Linked DNA regions of Homo sapiens: regions 1, 2, 3, 5 and 6 are each linked to region 4. The links are contacts of gene promoters, found by promoter capture Hi-C in blood cells and fetal thymus (Javierre and others, 2016). All regions are on one chromosome and are shown on one strand. Each heading gives the region's core, a stretch centred on a gene start or on the middle of the fragment in contact. The rest is flanking DNA. Distances are from core to core; before and after follow the strand shown.

Evidence for each region. The method cuts DNA at HindIII sites, captures the fragments that hold promoters and counts their contacts. A CHiCAGO score of 5 or more calls a contact.
Region 1: the fragment with the promoter of IDH2 here is called in contact with the fragment with the promoter of MESP1 in region 4 in 13 of 17 cell types (monocytes, M0 macrophages, endothelial precursors and 10 more); the score reaches 18.0 in monocytes.
Region 2: a contact is called between a fragment that was not itself captured here and the fragment with the promoter of MESP1 in region 4, in 1 of 17 cell types (M1 macrophages). The highest score is 5.7, in M1 macrophages.
Region 3: a fragment that was not itself captured here is called in contact with the fragment with the promoter of MESP1 in region 4 in 2 of 17 cell types (M2 macrophages and M1 macrophages); the score reaches 6.8 in M2 macrophages.
Region 5: a contact is called between a fragment that was not itself captured here and the fragment with the promoter of MESP1 in region 4, in 1 of 17 cell types (M1 macrophages). The highest score is 6.8, in M1 macrophages.
Region 6: a fragment that was not itself captured here is called in contact with the fragment with the promoter of MESP1 in region 4 in 4 of 17 cell types (M2 macrophages, neutrophils, M0 macrophages and 1 more); the score reaches 8.8 in M2 macrophages.

Annotation. Positions count from the first base shown.
Region 1 is chr15:90,101,001-90,104,004 of GRCh38, reverse strand. IDH2 (isocitrate dehydrogenase (NADP(+)) 2) reads left to right here and starts at 1,537. Exons shown (of 11, transcript NM_002168.4): 1 at 1,537-1,729. The coding sequence starts at 1,615. IDH2-DT (IDH2 divergent transcript) reads right to left here and starts at 1,873. Exons shown (of 3, transcript NR_149130.1): 1 at 1,627-1,873; 2 at 553-625. RefSeq lists silencers at 1,327-1,786, 2,107-2,176, 2,667-2,756, 2,817-2,866 and enhancers at 1,401-2,255, 2,256-3,004. The HindIII fragment of the contact is 3,688 bases long and covers 165-3,004 here.
Region 2 is chr15:90,007,717-90,010,748 of GRCh38, reverse strand. The region is part of intron 1 of ZNF710 (zinc finger protein 710); the gene reads right to left. Among named protein-coding and RNA genes, the nearest start is that of MIR3174, 2.5 kb to the right of the region's middle. The HindIII fragment of the contact is 5,216 bases long and covers 1-3,032 here.
Region 3 is chr15:90,026,849-90,029,769 of GRCh38, reverse strand. The region is part of intron 1 of ZNF710 (zinc finger protein 710); the gene reads right to left. Among named protein-coding and RNA genes, the nearest start is that of MIR3174, 22 kb to the right of the region's middle. The HindIII fragment of the contact is 3,216 bases long and covers 1-2,921 here.
Region 4 is chr15:89,749,940-89,752,715 of GRCh38, reverse strand. MESP1 (mesoderm posterior bHLH transcription factor 1) reads left to right here and starts at 1,467. Exons shown (of 2, transcript NM_018670.4): 1 at 1,467-2,207; 2 at 2,489-2,776. The coding sequence starts at 1,485. The coding sequence ends at 2,572. It also overlaps the pseudogene MRPL15P1. RefSeq lists silencers at 1,417-1,846, 1,907-2,196. The HindIII fragment of the contact is 7,264 bases long and covers 908-2,776 here.
Region 5 is chr15:90,044,560-90,047,511 of GRCh38, reverse strand. The region is part of intron 1 of ZNF710 (zinc finger protein 710); the gene reads right to left. Among named protein-coding and RNA genes, the nearest start is that of ZNF710-AS1, 36 kb to the left of the region's middle. RefSeq lists an enhancer at 484-533. The HindIII fragment of the contact is 204 bases long and covers 1,493-1,696 here.
Region 6 is chr15:90,119,544-90,122,647 of GRCh38, reverse strand. All of the region lies in intron 2 of IDH2-DT (IDH2 divergent transcript), which reads right to left. Among named protein-coding and RNA genes, the nearest start is that of IDH2, 19 kb to the right of the region's middle. RefSeq lists an enhancer at 562-1,061. The HindIII fragment of the contact is 4,319 bases long and covers 1-3,104 here.

The sequences.
Region 1 (3,004 bases), core at 288-2,787, 350 kb before region 4:
TAAAACCCAGCCCTCAGCTGGTGTCTTAGTTTAAGAAAACAGATGAAGAGAGAAACTTTGTTTGTGGCAGAATCAATTACAACTGTCTTTTGTGGCCAGGTGCAGTGGCTCACACCTGTAATCCCAGTGCTTTGCGAGGCCGAGGCGGGAGGATCATTTAAGCTTAGGAGCTGGAGACCAGCCTGGGCAACATAGTGAGATCCCCCCATCTCTATTTTTAATTAAAACAAACAAACAAACCCATCTTTTATATGCAAACAGGCAAAAATGGAACTGTTTCTACTGTGGCTGTTTGACTACTCTAGGGTCTCAGAAAACAACACCCCAAAATGCAGGCCTCAGGAGCAGCTCTCTCTGACCCTCTCCCTCCCTCCTGTCTTTGGCCCCTCACTCTCCTCCGAGGCCAGCCATAGAAACTGGAATCCTTCTTCCTCAAGGCAGGTCATAGAAACCAGAGCCCTTCTCCCCCAAAGCCAGACATCGAACCCAAAAATATTACTCTTTCTCCCACACATTTCTGGGTAAAAACTGGCCATAAATTATCTGACCTACCTTGTTTGCTTGCAGGTCCTAAGACCCCTCCATCCCAGAGAGAGTCCTGCCCCGTACTCAGAAGGAAGGAATGCTGCAGAGAAAGGTCAAGAAGAATCTACACGGACAGGACTTGCTGGGTTTCCCCACTCAGGTTATTGGCCTTCTGGTCCAATCATATTTCTTTTTTCGTGGTTTTTTTTTTTTTTTTTTGAGACGGAGTCTCACTCTGTTGCCCAGGCTGGAGTGCAGTGGCATGATCTCAGCTCACTGCAATCTCTGCCTCTCAGGTTCAAGTGATTCTCCCGCCTCAGCCTCCTGAGTAGCTGGGATTACAGGCGCGCGCCACCATGCCCGATCAATTTTTGTATTTTTAGTAGAGACAGGGGTTTCATTATGTTAGCCAGCCTGGTCTCGAACTCCTGACTTCAAGTGATCCGCCTGCCTCGACCTCCCAAAAGTTCTAGGATTACAGACGTGAGCCACCGCGCCCGGCCCAAAGTGAGATTTCAACTCTCTCTACACCAGCTGGACCTGACAGCGGACTCGCGGAGGCGCAGACGCCGCCGGCGGTCTTAGCTCAAGAATGAAGCAGCCGCACTGGGCTAATGCGCCTTTGGGTTCAGCCCGGCAGGCGAGGGAAGCAAGAGTTCGCTCAGATTGGCTTTTGGGTTTAAGCTAAAGCGTCAGAAACTGACATCCAGGTTTACATGGGGCATCCTGGAGAGGGTCAGCCTCGCAAGCGGCTCTGCTAATCCCCCAGCCCTGATCCCGCTCGCGGGTCCCGGTGGGTCTCACGCCTGTAGCTCCTGCGGAGCTGGGCTTTCAGCGGCGCCCAGAGAAGCACCAGCCGGGCCTGGCCGCCGGGTCCCGGCTCCCGCGGGACGCTGGAGGCGTCGGCGGCCCTGGCCCCGCCTCCTCCCCGGCAAGGCCCAATGGGGCGGCAGGCCCGGCAGCCCCGCCCCGGTGGTGCCCGCGCGGCCAGCGCCCGCCAGGCCCAGCGTTAGCCCGCGGCCAGGCAGCCGGGAGGAGCGGCGCGCGCTCGGACCTCTCCCGCCCTGCTCGTTCGCTCTCCAGCTTGGGATGGCCGGCTACCTGCGGGTCGTGCGCTCGCTCTGCAGAGCCTCAGGCTCGCGGCCGGCCTGGGCGCCGGCGGCCCTGACAGCCCCCACCTCGCAAGAGCAGCCGCGGCGCCACTGTGAGTGCCGCGCGGAGGGTCCAGGCAGGCGCGCGCCCCCAGCTGCGACGTGGCGGCTTCCCAGGCTGGGGCCGGGAAGCACGTCCCGCCAGCCCGCAGCCCGGGGACGGCGGGGTCAGGCGCACAAAGGGCCGCGGGGCAGCTTCGCTCCGCGCTCCCCCGCCCGGCGCTTCCCGGCCGTGCCAGGCGCTGGGGTGGGGACTTGAGGGACGGTGGCAACTGGTGGCCCGGGCGACGGCCAGCTCTGCGCGGGCGGGGGCTCGGGGCTGCCGCGCGCCCCTAGGTATTTCGGGAGGGGGTCCTGAGAGTGTCCCGGACCCGAAGGGTGGCCTGCCCGCCCTGCGCCCCTGGAACGAGACGAGCACCCGTGGGGGGCTGGAGCACCCCGCGCGCTCCCCTGGCGAGAGGGAGGGTCGTGGCTCGGCCCCTGCTCAGACAAAGGCTGGGAGGCGGGAGACATGCACTTCCCCTTCCTTTTCAGCCAGGCGCGCGCTGATACCAGGCCCACGTCAGCTATTTTTGGAGCCTTTTACACGACAGCTGGAGGAGCGTCCTTTTTAATTTTCCCCTTTTGTTTGGCCGCCCCCACCCCCACCCCTTCGCCTTCATCGCTGCACTTGAGGCTCCATCCTGGGGCCTCTCCTTGACTTGACCTGCCTTGGCAGGCACATGCCCTCCCTGCCTGGCTCACTCGCCGCAGAGACCTGGCAGCCCGCGCAAAATGTCACTTTGCGGAATCGTTCCCACGGCTTCTGGGTACCCTTAGTTCCCTGCTTAGGAGGGAAGACAGTAGTCGGGTCGTAATAAGCAAGACTTAGCCCGAGCCTCCGTTGCCAACGCAGGCTGCCTTGCTTGGCGTGTGGGCATCGGCCTGCCCCCTCACCCTGGCTACCCAACACAGCTACAAAAGGCAGGGAACAATGTAGGTCCCTTGGCCCTGCCTAATGCCTGTTGCCATGGAAACCCCTATCCTAATCTGGCCAGGAGCCCCTTGCAGTGAGCCAGGAGAGTGAGGAAGAGGGGATGGGGCCCGCTGGCCCTGACCTGGCCAGAGGAGGTAATGGTTAACCGGATTGTGGGAGCAGCTGACTAGAGCCGGGGGGGTAGGGAGGCTTGGGCCCCAGTCCTACCTTCCCTGCCAAGGAGAAAGGGGCATGTCTGCTTTTGTACCTCTGGGAATCTACCTCAGGGATCTGCCCAACAACTCCCAGGTTCCAAGTGCCCCAGGACCCAAAGATTCCCATATAGCACACCACCTTCAGCAAAAATATGGTG
Region 2 (3,032 bases), core at 405-2,904, 260 kb before region 4:
AAAGAGTATATGAGTTTCAAAGCAGTAGAGAAAAAACGGACTGAAGGAAAGAAAAAAATCTTTCAATCAATTCAAAAGAATGAACAGAAGAATCAGAAAAAGAACACATAGAAAACACCAAATACGATGGTAGAAAGAAATCTGCATCCTGTTTTGGCCAGGTGCGGTGGCTCACACTGTAATCCCAGCGCTATGGGAGGCTGAGGCAAGTGGATAGCCTGAGCTCAGGGTTCAAGACCAGCCTGGGCAACATGGAAAAACCCCATCTCTACAAAAAATAAAAAAAATAAAAATTAGCCAGCTGTGGTGGTGCATGCCTGTGGTCCCAGCTACTTGGGAGGCGGAGGTGGGAGGATCACTTGAGCCTAGGAGGCGGAGGTTGCAGTGAGCTGAGATCTGCCACTGCACTCCAGCCGAGGTGACAGAGTGAGACCCTGTCTCAAAAAAAAGAAATCCATCTATTTCCAAAACCATAACAAATGCAAATGGCTTGAACTCTCTGGTTAAAGAGCACAGATATCAGACTAGATTAAAAACAAAAGGAAATCCAGCCCTAGGCTGTCTACAGGAGACATGAGGACAGGGATCATAGGCCAAGAGTCCTATACAGGCTGAAACCACAGTCATGGTAGGTAAGCAAGTAGCAATGAACTGTGGCCAAGGCACCAAAGCATAGCAACAGGAAAGAATGGTACAAAAAAACAGATGAGAGAGGTAGGAAAAGGACCCAGAGTGATGAGCCAGACCCAAGGTGGAGAAGACTATTCATGACAATAACTGCTATGGAGAAGTCAGGTAAGAGGAAGTCACAAGATGGGCCACCGGGCAGTCAGGTAAGAGGAAGTCACACAAGATGGGCCACTGGGCATGAGTAGGTGGCCAGGGACCTCTAGGAGAGCCAGCTGGAGTGAGAGTGGGCTGGGCTGAAACGCTCCACTGTTGTTGAGCTGGCAAGGAGAAGAGGGGGAGAGAGGAAGTGGGGACAGAGTGGACTCTTCTTTGTGAAATCCTAGGGTAAAGAGAAGTGACACAGGTTGGGGTTGGGGAGGGAGAGAGAGGTGTGACTGTAGCTGTAGGTAGAGAATTAAGGCATAGGAGGATGTGGGGTGCCCAGACCTAGGGAGGAAGCCAGGGCAGGACACAGAGGAACAAGCAGTGGGGCTGATGGTGGGCACATGGGGAATGGACCAGGGAAGTGGGCACAGATTTCCCAGGTTGGGGCAGGGGTGGGCAGGGCTGCTTCAAGGAGTGCTGTGTAGTGGGAGGACAGGAAGAGTTCTGAATTTCAGAGGTGACCTGCTTCTGGGTAATGGCAAGTCTACAGTCTTGTGATTTGCAGCTACAGAATGGAGCCACGATGGGAAGCGATGGCTTGTGAGCCCAGGGCCCGAGGATCGGACATCACAGAGTGAGATTAAACTGACCAGCACTACCAGCTTCCAAAGGGTACCTGATGCTTCTCAAGGGGCCAGCTTGGACTTGGTCCTTGCGAGGACATTCTGATGTGCCCCAGGTTTTAGCCGTTGTCTTTTACCAAACACATGCAGGACAGTCTTCCCAGTCTGGAAGCCCATATCCTTGCAGTCCCACCGAGAACGGGATGGGGTCCGGGATGGCATTTCAGGTACCATCCAGAAGACAAAAACACACATAACCAAGAGTTATCACAAAAGTTATAGTTTCCCATTTAAATGCGGAGGGTGGACATTCCTGCTTTCTGTAGTGACCATTCTAACTTCATTTCGATTCCATATATATAACATGCTGGGGGCAGGGAAAGAAGAAAGGGAAAATAGTTGGGTCGCAATATGATCACTTATTCTCAGCTTCCGACTACACTAAAAATCCTCACATTTCCAACAGTTTTCTTAGTTCTCCCAGAAATAAACACACAATAGAGCATATGTATTTAATATCAGAAAATCCTTTACAATGGTGATTGCGAAAGAGACCAACCCACTTCTTTTCTTTTTTTTTTTGAGACAGGGTTTTCAGGCTGGAGTACACTGAGGCCATCATAGCTCACTGCAGCCTCAACCTCCTGGGCTCAAGCGATCCTCCCACCTCAGTCTCTTAAGTAGCTGGGACTACAGCTACACGTGCCACCGACTGATTTATAAAACTTTTTTGTAGAGACAGGGTCTCACTATGTTGCCCAGGCTGTTCTCAAACTCCTGGGCTCAAGCAATCCTCCTGCCTGGGCCTCCCAAAGTCCTGTGATTACAGGCATGAGCCACTGTGCCCGGCCTCCAACCCACTTCTAATAGTTCTTTTACTTCATGTATATATATATACATATATATATATGTATATATATATATACACACACACACACACACGTATACTATATACATATATACACATATACATATATATACACATATGTACTATACATATATATATACTACATGTATATAATAAAGATAATACATACTGGATAAAAATTCAAACAACACAAAATGAATGAGAGAAAAGACAAAAGGCCTCTGTACTTGGGGTAGGCACTAGGGATGGGGGAAGGGTCAGGTCTGTGAGCCATACACATTAATTAGTAGGTAATAAAAAACAGTTGTTTTACCTTTTGAAGCTGCTGATTCAACATATATTTGGCTGTGCTTTGGCTGTAACATCCTTTAATCCCTCCCTTTCAGAATCTACCCCAATTTCCTGTTGCCACCTTACCTCCCTGATTTAAGGGTGCAATTCTTCAAGTGCCTTCTTTCCAATTCTAGAATTTTTAATTTAGCCTTTGGTGCGGCAGCAGTTTTGTTTTCTAATTACTTTCTTTGCAAACAAGCATGAGTTGGGCCCAACAGTGATACAGGCTTTCATGGGCTAGCCTGGCAACCTGGAGCTATTCACAAGGTGCTTCCTTGGGAAAATGCTTTCTATGTTTTACATGAACAACTGGGGAGATGCTTACTTGTAAAGTGGGGGTGGGGGTGAGCCTCTTCATCTGTGCTACCAAAAAAGAGCTCGCCCCTAGTCCTGCTTGCCCTGTTACTAGGGTAGGCTTTGCAACCAGCGACTCT
Region 3 (2,921 bases), core at 185-2,684, 280 kb before region 4:
GGTGGCATGTGCCTGTAATCCCAGCTACTCGGGAGGCTGAGGCAGGAGAATCACTGGAACCCGGAGGTGGAGGTTGTAGTGAGCCAAGATCAAACCACTGCACTCCAGCCTAGACGACAGAGTTGAGACTCTGTCTCAAAAACAAAACAGAACAAAAAATTTTTTTGTAGAGACTGGGTCTTGCTACCTTTCCCAGGCTGGTCTCAATCTCCTGGCCGCAAGCGATCCTCCCACCTTGGCTTCCCAAAGTGCTAGGATTACATGTGTGAGCCACCATGCTTGGTCTATTATCAAGTTTGAAAGTCCCAGAATGACATAAAATCCATTCCCGTTTGAGTTGGAGTTTGTTCATTCTCTGTGGTTTGTATCAGCACTAACTGCCCTGGTGATGTCAAATGGCCAGAAGGGCCCCTACACCTTGCTGGGACCTTTTAGGTTGGACCAGGAGAGCTCACCACCCTGTAAATATATCCCATGACACACACCTGGCTGGTGCTCTCCCAGAGAAACCTTCTCCAGCTGAGGGAAACCCTGTGCAAATATGTTCCTGGGTCAAAGTCCTCTGAGAGGTTTCCCAGTGGGCACTCATTCCACACCCACATTTATTATCTCTATAATTGCCAGGCATGGGAGTAGGCGTTGGGAAAAAGTAAGAGCAATAAACAGAGCACAGCCTTTCCCTGCCATGAGCTTACTAAACTGTAAATAACTTGCTTTTAAATTAACATTTTCCATTATAAAATTAATAAAACCACCCATTACAAAAGGTTTGAAAAAGACGGATGAGAAAAACATGAATACTCCTTCTCACCCTAATGCAACCACTTCTTGTGTATTTCTTCCCAGTCCTCTTCATGCATGTGTTTTTCACATGGTTTTGATCACAGTGTATACAATCTGGTGTCCTACTTGTTTTCCCTTATCTGGATGCCACAAGCAATTTTCCATCTTGCATGTCCGTAATCGATCACCCATGTTCATAGTCACACCGTTCACACACATCCCCATTTGCCTGCCAATTCTTGCACTGGAGGACATTGAGATTGCTTCCCGTCTGTCCACACTGCCCAACAAATCACCTCCATGCATTCACGCACAGAGAAGATAAAGGGAAGAGGCAAATGTCAGGTAATTTGATGGTGTCAGAAGGGACTTGGTGAATAATGACACTGTGTCAACTGGGGCAAGTTACTTAACCTCTCTGAACCTCAACTTCCTGTAATATGGGCAGAATTGTAAAAAGGATTTAAACAGGAGGCCATTGGTAAACTCCCAGCACAGGGCATGATCCACAATAAATGCATGTTTTCTTTTCTCTTACATATCAGCAGGTCATGTTGGTGACTCCTAAATACCTTCTCAGAGACTGGGACAATCTGCAGAGACACCCTTGGAGCACAGTGCAGCAGCTTCCCATACCCTGCATTCAGATTGCTAAGTTCTGGGTGACAGAGGATTTGTATGCGGAACTATTGAAGGGAGAAATGATGTGTGCTCTGTAACTTTCTTCAAAATGGTTCAGGAAAAAATATATATACCTGTGCAGATGAAGCAAATATGGCAAATGTTAACATCTATTATATCTCAGCCATTGGTGTATGGGTATTTACTGTTATATACTTTCAATTTTTCTCAATAGTTGAAATTCTTTCATAATAAAATCTTTTAAAAACTCTTCTAATTTAAAAAGTTAAAAATGGTATACTTTCAAAACTTGTATTGCATTCATTAATTTCTTCAACAAATATTAATTCAATAGAGTCAACAAATATTAACTCAATTTAGTATCTGTTACGCAGAACTGACCTGGTTCCTAGCCTCATGGAGCTCACCATTTGGCATTTTCTTTAGGTCGGGCATTTGTTTGCTAATTATATCGTCTGTGCATATTGTCTTCAAATTTAAATCTTTTTTTTTTTTTTTCGAGACAGTGTCTCACTCCATCACCAAGGCTAGAGTACAGTGGCACAATCTCGGCTAACTGCAACCTCCCAGGTTCAAGTGATTCTCATGCCTCAGCCTTCCGAGCAGCTGGGACTATAGGCACACACCACCACATCCAGCTAATTTTTGTATTTTTAGTAGAGACAGGGTTTTGCCATGTTGGCCAGGCTGGTTTTGAACTCCTGGCCTCAAATGATCAGCCTGCCTTGGCCTCCCAAAGTGCTAGTATTACAGGCATGAGCAAGGCCTTCAAATTTAAATCTTGATTTTTAAAAACTAATCTATATATAGGATCTTGGTAGAATTAAAATATCAATGGCTGGGCATATGGCTCACGTCTATAATCCTAGCACTTTGGGAGGCCGAGGCAGGTGGATCATTTAAGGTCAGGAGATTGAGACAAGCCTGACCAACATGGTGAAACCCCGTCTCTACTAAAAATACAAGAATTAGCCGGGTTGGTGGCACACGCCTGTGATCCCAGCTACTTGGGAGGCTGAGGCAGGAGAATCGCTTGAACCCAGGAGTTGGACATTGCAGTGAGCTGAGATCTCGCCATTGCACTCCAGCCTGGGCGACAGAGCAAGACTCTGTCTCCAAAAAAAAAACAGAAGAAGAAAAAGAAGTTACAATTTTTTAAGGTAGTCAAATCTGTTGAATTTTTTGATGACTTTTGCTATTGGTTCTAAACTTTGGAAATAAACCTCTAGCCTAAGATTTGGCAGAGGGTAAATTGTACTTACTGTTATTTAATACTTTTACTCTTTCTTTATAATATTTATATGTTTCTGTTTCAGTATTATCATGTTGACTAGAGTGTTAAAAGCAATGTTAAATAGTGATGGTGATGGCAGACCTCCTTATTTTGTTACTGGTTTCCACAAGAATGCCTCTAGTGTTTAAGTTAATTACAGAATTGGTTATTGGTTTGAAATATTTTTTATTATGCTAAGAATGCACCCTTCTGTTCCTTTTTT
Region 4 (2,776 bases), core at 218-2,717:
GCTGAACACCATAATCCTCTTTAAGTGGCTGAATGGTCACACCTCTTCCATTGACAAGCTGGGTTAAGTCAATAGGTTGAGTAGGATCAACACGACCCAAATCAGTAACATATTACAGTCTATTGATACTTAAAGGTTGATACTGGTGTCTGAAGCTAAGTCCTTCATTAAATCTGTATTTTGGGATTCCGATGTAAAATAGAGTCTGGCCATCCCCAAAGCCCAGCAGAGCCAGTTTCCTCTCTGCCTTTCTCTTTTATGGCCTCTGCCGCATTTTCTACCTCTTCTCCGACCTTTTGGTCGTCTCATGGGTTTCCTGGAGCCAGGATTCCGCTTTAAATTGGTCAGGCTCATGCGCAGCAGGGCCCAGAGCTGCCATAACCTGCGAAAAGAGTTTTATTTCTTCCTTTCTGACCTGTATGTCTTTTGTTTCCTAATTGCATAGCCTAGATCCTCCATCTGGTACAATGTTGAATAGGAGTGGTAAGAGAGACACCCTCGCTTTGTTCCTGCAATCGGGGGGTGGGGGGAAGATTTCAGTCTTTCACTACTCAGTATGAGGCTACCTGTAGGTTCTTTGTAGGAGCCTTTCATCAGGTTGATGAAATTCCTCTCTATTCTTAGTTTGCTGAGAATTTTCATCACGAAGGGTGTTGGATTTTGTCAAATGCCTTTGCTGCGTCATTTCCACTCACATTTCATTGGGAAAACCTGTTATACCTGTCCAATAGCGGCAGAACATCAGGTAAAGGCCAGTGGTGACAGCTGTGGCAACAGGCCAAGCTCCAGACCTTGCCAGGCTAGAGGTGGCCTGGGGTTGGAGCAGGCTTAACCCCCTCCCTCTGCTCAGAAGGTCCAGCATCCTGACCAGACTCGGCAGCTTATTGAATTTGCCGGGGTGCAAGCTTCCTTGCACTGTCCACATGTTCTTACCAGGGAAGGGTCTACCCAGGGCCATCCTGCCTCAAAGGAGAAGTGGTTTACTGTTTTCTCCACCTTTAGAGGGAATGAGGGTCCCTGCTCCTGGTCCTTACTCTACTCCACTGTCCAATTGGCGCATGCCCTGAGGCTCTCATTATACAAATTGGAAGCTAAGGTGCAAAAGAACTAAGAATTTGCATAAGGTCCCCAACAGGTGAAGGCAGGCCCCAAACCTAGGATCTAGATTTCGTTTTTCTGACCCCGCTTCCTTTAACCTGCAGGGCTGGCCCAACGCCCCGGGCTTCACCCAACACTGGGCGCAGGCGGGAAGGCCGAGAGGCTGGGTCGGGCGCCCAAGCGAGGGCCCAGGTGGGGCGAAACAGGCGCAGTCAAGGGGCTGGCACCTTGGCCCCCCGCCGTGGATTCAAAGGGTCAGGCTCCGCCCCCTCCAAGCCCCGAGCCCACTTTGATGTGCTGATGCGGCCTGGAAGGGGCCACTTCACACCTCGGGCTCGGCATAAAGCGGCCGCCGGCCGCCGGCCCCCAGACGCGCCGCCGCTGCCATGGCCCAGCCCCTGTGCCCGCCGCTCTCCGAGTCCTGGATGCTCTCTGCGGCCTGGGGCCCAACTCGGCGGCCGCCGCCCTCCGACAAGGACTGCGGCCGCTCCCTCGTCTCGTCCCCAGACTCATGGGGCAGCACCCCAGCCGACAGCCCCGTGGCGAGCCCCGCGCGGCCAGGCACCCTCCGGGACCCCCGCGCCCCCTCCGTAGGTAGGCGCGGCGCGCGCAGCAGCCGCCTGGGCAGCGGGCAGAGGCAGAGCGCCAGTGAGCGGGAGAAACTGCGCATGCGCACGCTGGCCCGCGCCCTGCACGAGCTGCGCCGCTTTCTACCGCCGTCCGTGGCGCCCGCGGGCCAGAGCCTGACCAAGATCGAGACGCTGCGCCTGGCTATCCGCTATATCGGCCACCTGTCGGCCGTGCTAGGCCTCAGCGAGGAGAGTCTCCAGCGCCGGTGCCGGCAGCGCGGTGACGCGGGGTCCCCTCGGGGCTGCCCGCTGTGCCCCGACGACTGCCCCGCGCAGATGCAGACACGGACGCAGGCTGAGGGGCAGGGGCAGGGGCGCGGGCTGGGCCTGGTATCCGCCGTCCGCGCCGGGGCGTCCTGGGGATCCCCGCCTGCCTGCCCCGGAGCCCGAGCTGCACCCGAGCCGCGCGACCCGCCTGCGCTGTTCGCCGAGGCGGCGTGCCCTGAAGGGCAGGCGATGGAGCCAAGCCCACCGTCCCCGGTTAGTGTCCCCTTCCCCGCGCCCCCTTCGTCCGTGCCCCCGCGCACAGCCCCACCGCCCGCCAAGGTGAGGACCAGGCACCCTGCTGCTCCCCGCCGGCAGCCTGGCCACCTGGCCACCATAGTATGCCCAGGGCTCCAAGAAGCGAAGGCAGGGAAAGGCCACGCAGAGGACTGGGTCTCCCCTCGCTAGGGGCCCCCTGAGAGTGGAGCCCACGAGCGCGGACACCCGCACAAGGCCACCAGTGCTTGAGGGCTGCGCTGTTCCGTCTCTCCCTACAGCTCCTTCCGGGCGACGTGCTGGCTCTGTTGGAGACCTGGATGCCCCTCTCGCCTCTGGAGTGGCTGCCTGAGGAGCCCAAGTGACAAGGGACAACTGACGCCGTCTCTGTGAGCACCGAGGCTTTTTGGCCTCAGCACCTTCGAAGTGGTTCCTTGGCAGACTGCCTTTCCTGGAAGAGGGCACGGGCGATCCCGACGGGGGCATTCCTGCGGGTGAGAGCCGTCCCCACCGCGGCGGCCCTTCTCAGCCCCTCCCTCCATGGAGGGACCCATAGGGCTAGACACTTT
Region 5 (2,952 bases), core at 345-2,844, 290 kb before region 4:
CTGTGAGGCGTAGAAATGGACTTTAAAAAACCCCACCAGGTTTTGAAGCACCGGTTTAGATCCAGACTCTAGAGTTGAAGGCCTGAGTTTGCATCCTCTGCTACTTCCCAATGGCATGACTCTTTCTCCTTACTAAAGTGGGGTGGTACCAAGAGCACCTGCCTCACCAGTTAAAATATGTAAAGTGCTGAAAGCAGAACCTGGCACGCTTGTGGTGTTTGCTGCTATTATTAGCACTCAGCAGCTCGCCTGGGCCACACGTTAGTTACGGGAGGAGCTGGACTCCTTGATGCCAGTTCTTAGGGGAGAATCGACTGCTAGGTGCCCTGCCACCTGGGAAACTGGGGCCCTGGAAACATGCCTGCCTCAAACTCGGACCCTCGTCCTGTCCCCACCCACCCCCAGAACCTCTTTCATCTCTAGGCCAGCGTGGCTGTGCGTGGGCATCTTCATGGGCGTAAGGAGACGTTCTTGCCCAAACTGGAAAAACCTGATGGCCTTGCAGGCCTGCCCTGGCAGCTTCCGGGTTGCCAGCAGTATGCTGAGAAGCAGGTGGGGCCAGGAAGAGCAATGGTGGCCTCCTCCCCTGGGCCCAGGCTCAAATCTCTATGGTGCCTGCCCCAAAGCCATCTTGATCCCTTTCCTGGAGCATAAATCCCAAACGTCCCTAGATAAGCAGACTCCCTGCTACCTTTACCCACACCACAGCTCATCTTGTCTTGGTCACCCAGACTCAGAGGGAGGACAGCCTTTTCCCCAACCCCTTTGGAGCCCCAGACCCTCCTCCTGGGAAGTGGGTGTTAGCACCCAACTTGCACATAGTAGGGGCTCAGCACCATATCACGGGGCTTCAGATCCACCTCCCTCATTTCCACATCCAACTGACACTCTTCCTCTACCTGGGTCTGGTCACTACTGATGAGTGGGCTCATTGTCCCCACCCGTCTGGGTGTCTGGCTTGGTCACTAGCCCTTCCTTCTCCTGCCGCCCTCCATACCTGGCACTGACTCGTCCCTCCGCCCTCCTCCACCCTCCTCTAGTCTTCTTGGGGAGGATATGGCCCCTTCCCTGAGGCCCTGGGCTCTGCGGGGCAGGGATAGGACTCCCCTTTGCATAAGGCTTTACAATTTACACAGCACTTGGCTGTGAGCTGTACTGTTTCCACTCTACATCTGCTAACAACATGCAATTCACACTTCAGCAAACATTCATGAAGCGCCTACTATGGGCTGGGCACTGAGCTGGGTACGCAGGAGGAAGGGCACACAGGGTTCTGCCTTGGGAGGGTCCTGCCGGCCACACCTCCAGGCCTGATGGCTTGTGCCAGCACACCTGGGCCTGGAGCCCTCATCTCACATAGCCCAGGCCACTGACATCTCAGGGCTCCCTCCCAGAGGTAGCTTCCTTCTGCAGAGAGCCCTGTGTCCCCCCAGAGACCATGCCTTTTCCTGGGGCCCCTGGGAACCCTGGCTGGACGGGAGCCCCACAAGCTTTCTCTGTGGCCCTGGGGGACCCAGAGTGTGACCAGGTCCCTTTTTCTGTGCTTTGAGGAGGTACCCAGGGTCTTCCAGGCCCGCTGCCCGACGTGCCCCTTCTACAGGGCAGAAATGTGCCGAGACATGCGGTAGGTCCTCCAGAAGAGACCTGGCCCCTGCTACCTCGCGTCTCTTCCCTCTCTGGCCTCCAGCTCAAAGCTTTCATGCACCACAGCCCGCTGCAACCCTGGCAATGTCCGATTTCTTGTTTTCTCTCCACCCCCTAAACTGGGGCCAGATCTATGTCCTCCATCACCTCCTCAAGCTCTACTCTATGATATCTGTCCCCTCCACCAGAGCTCAGCTGTCCTCTGGAAGGTGGCAGCCCTTTGCCAAACACAGGAGCTTTGAGCTGGGCCTCCTCCTCATCTGGCAGCAGCCACACAACCCTCTCTGAGCTCACAGGCCACGCACCACCACCACTCCCTGGCCTCCTGCATCCCAGCGGCCCCTGGGCTCAGGCCTTGGCCTGAGTGGACTCCCTCAGAGAAACCATCTCTCATGGCTTCTGCGCTCACCTCAGTGTTGACCTCACTAGAGCTGCACCCTTACCCAGGTCCGCAACAGTTCCCAGACGGCAAACCTGTCAGCCGTCACTGTCTAACCTCTCCATGGCTCACGTCCTTGAAGCCATCCGCCATTTCCAGCTTCCTTCTTTCTGCTGTTCCAGTTGACCAGGCTCAAGCTCTGAGGTCACTGTAGAGTGACTGAGGTTTTGCAAGGCTTTTCTGCCTGGCAAACATGGACAGCACACCATTCTCCTAGGAGCTAGAGAGATGAAGACAACAGTCTCCGCCCTCCAGCAGCCACAGTAAATGGATGATTACCTTAGTGAGTTGACAGCTATGACATACAACTCCCAGGAGATGGATAAAGGGAGATGTGATTAAGTCTTATGTGGGGGAGTCAAAGGGGGAGGTGACACCTGAGCAAGGTTTTGTAGGTTGTGTAGGAGTTCAGCAGGCAGACTAACAGAAGAAAGGCACTCTGGGGGAGGGAGCAGTGATTGTAATGTGGAGGTGTGACACAGTGCGGGGGTTTGGCCTACACAGGTATAAACACACCTCAAGAGTAGGCAGGGCCACCTTTACTCCTCAGACCACAGTGACTGGTGGCCCCTGGGGATGTAGAAAGTGCTGGCCTTGCTGCGGTGCTATCCACTGACCCATGCACACAGGAGAGGAGCCACTGCTTTAACAGGTAAAGTAAATGTGCTAACCAGGCACACGCACATGCCTGATTGACAAGCATATGTCGGCTCTCAGAGGAGGTTCGTTTCCACAGGTTTAAAGAAAAATAAAGAGGCCTACAGGGAAAAAACCAAACTGTTCTGTTTGGATAATTTAGGAAAACCTGAGTGAAAATTCTCTATAGCTCCCAGGTGACATTTTGAAATCCCTCTGATGCGTGGGACACA
Region 6 (3,104 bases), core at 140-2,639, 370 kb before region 4:
CAAAAGATATGTCGACCTAGAGGAAAAAACTGAGGGAAAATCATTTATACAAATAGAGAGTTTATTTGGGCCAAGTTGAGGACTGCAACCTGGGAGCACAGATTCAAGTTGCCCTGAATAAATGCTCCAATTAGCAATATTTACAGATGGGTTTTTAAAGGAAAAAAGGAGAAGCAGTCCCTAAATGGTCTACCAAGAATTTACATTAAAATAATATAAGCTATTGATTGGCTATCCATTGATTTTTTTTGTATCAGGAATTCCAGGACATGAAGATAACAGATAAGGAAAAAAAAAAAAAAAAAAGGCCTTTAAACAGGTGCCCCAGGCCTGAATGTGGGAGGGCCTGGGGAGCTGTGACTGAAGTCCCATACTCAAGTCTCTCTGGGCCTGATCAATTTTGTATACAATTTCACATAGCTCAGACTGTTCTGAGCTATTTTTCTTTTCTCAGGTCAATAAGTTGGACTACATTAAAATTAAGAGTTTTTGTGCATCGAAAGATGTGTTAAAAAAATAAAGCAAGCCATTGAGTAAGAGGACATTTGCAACACATACATCCAAAAAGGAGACTCTGGGCGTGGTGGCTCATGCCTGTAATCCCAGCACTTTGGGAGGCTGAGGCAGGTGGGTCACTTGAGGTTAGGAGTTCGAGACCAGCCTGACCAACATGGTGAAACCCCATCTCTACCAAAAAAAAAAAAAAAAAAAAAAAAAAAAATTAGCTGGGCATGGTTGCGTGTGCCTGTAATTCCAACTACTTGGGAGGCTGAGGCAGGAGAATTACTTGAGTAACCTGAGAGATGGAGGTTGCAGTGAGCTGAGATCACGCCACTGTACTCCAGCCTGGGTGACAGAGCAAGACTCTGTCTCAAAATAAATAAATAAATACATAAATAAGGAGACTCATATCAAAATGTATATCAAGGCTGGGCGTGGTGGCTTATGCCTGTAATCCCAGCACTTTGGGAGGCCGAGGCAGCAGATTACCTGAGGTCAGGAGTTCAAAACCAGCCTGGCCAACATGGCAAAACCCGTCTCTATTAAAAATACAAAAACTAGCTGGGGGTGGTGGTGCACATCTGTAATCCCAGCTACTCAGGAGGCTGAGGCAGGAGAATTGCTTGAATCTGAGAGGCAGAGGTTGCAGTGAGCTGAGATCGCGCCACTGCACTCCAGCCTGGGTAACAGAGCGAGACTCCGTCAAAAAAAAAAAAAAAAGAAAAAAGAAAAAAAATGTATATCGAACTCCTACAAATCACAAACAAGCAGAAAAGCCAATGGAAAAACAGGCAAAAGATTTGAAACAGGTGCTTCACGAGAGAATATCCAAATAGCTAATAAGCATATGAAAAGGAACTCAATCTCATTAGTCCCCAGGGAAATGCAATTTAAAAATCGCACTGAGCTCCCACTACACCCACCAGAATAACTAAAGCTGAAAAGAATGACAATGCTGTTATCAGTGCTGTAGAGAAACTGAAACTCTCATACTTTGCTGGTAGAATATAAATTAGACAATCAATTTGAAAAGTTGGCAGTGTCTATTAAAACTGAACACTTTATATATGTATGTGTACGTCCTATGACCCAGTAATTCACTCATAAGTATTATTCCACAGAATTTTGTATATATGTACAGAAGATAAGTGTAAGAACGTTCATAGAAGCATCGTTAGTAATAGCCCCAAACTGTAAACACCCGATGTTCATCAATAGTAGAATGCAAATAGTAGAAATAAATTATGGCAGGTTCATAAAATGCAACTTTAGATAGCAACGGAATTAGTAAATTACAGCTACATGCAAAAACATGAATGAAGTTTATAATGTAATGTTGAGAAAAAGACACAACAGAGTATATACTGTATGACTTTATTTACACAAAAATAAAAATGGGCAAAATCAATCATTTTAGTAGAAGTTAGGATAGTAGTAGTGACCTTTGGGGAATTTGGAAAAATAATGTCTAAGAGAGAACTTAAGGATGGTTTCTGGGTTGCAGGTAATGTTGTTTTCTTTTCTTTTTTGAGACGGAGTCTCGCTCTGTCGCCCAGGCTGGAGTACAGCGCGATCTTGGCTCACTGCAACCTCCGCCTCCCAGGTTCAAGCGACTCTCCTGTCTCAGCCTTTAGGGCCTCACCTCTTAATACCATCTCACTGGCCATTGATTTTTTTTTTTTTTTTTTTTTGAGATGGAGTCTTGCTCTGTTGACCAGGCTAGAGTGCAGTGGCAGGATCTCGGGTCACTGCAACCTCCGCCTCCCGGGTTCAAGTGATTCTCCTGCCTCAGCCTCCAGAGTACCTGAGATTACAGGCATGCACCATGACTCCTGGCTATTTTTTTTTGTATTTTTAGTAGAAACGGGGTTTTGCCATGTTGGCCAGTCTGGTCTTGAACTCCTGACCTCAAGTAATCTGCCCGCCTTGGCCTCCCAAAGTGCTGGGATTACAGGTGTGAGCCACCACGCCTGGCCCAGCCATTAAATTTTAATACATGAATTCTGTGAGACATTTAGACCTTAGCAGTGAGAGTAAAATAAAACAAGTTGAAACAGAGAAACTTAATTCTCACAGACTTTTGTTAAAAGACCTGTTGAATGACACCTTTCAGTTATTAGGAAATTGAACCCAGGAGGCAGGAGTGAAATTCAAGACACAATGCTGAGTAAAGAAACTGGCATGGCTGGGTGGCTCACACCTGTAATCCCAGCACTTTTGGGAAGCTGAGGTGGGAAGATCCCTTGAACCCAGGAGTTTGAGACCAGCCTGGGCAACATAGGAAGACCCCTGTCTCTATGAAAAAAGAAAGAAAGGTGCAAACATGTTTATACATCTACTTGAAAAGAAAAATGAGGAGGCTTAGAACTCCCACTGGAACTAAAATATTATGGACTAATAACATGAAAGATGGGAGAATTGGAGAGAAATAATCTAAGTTTCTCATATTTTTAAGAAGGATAAATAAAATAATGAGTTTTAAACTTTGTAAAGTCAAGAATTTAATTTTTCCTTCCCTTCCCTTTCCCTTTTTCTTTTCTTTCTCCTTCCTCCCTTCCTTCCTTCCTTCTTTCCTTTCCTCCCTCCCTTCCTCCCTCCCTCTT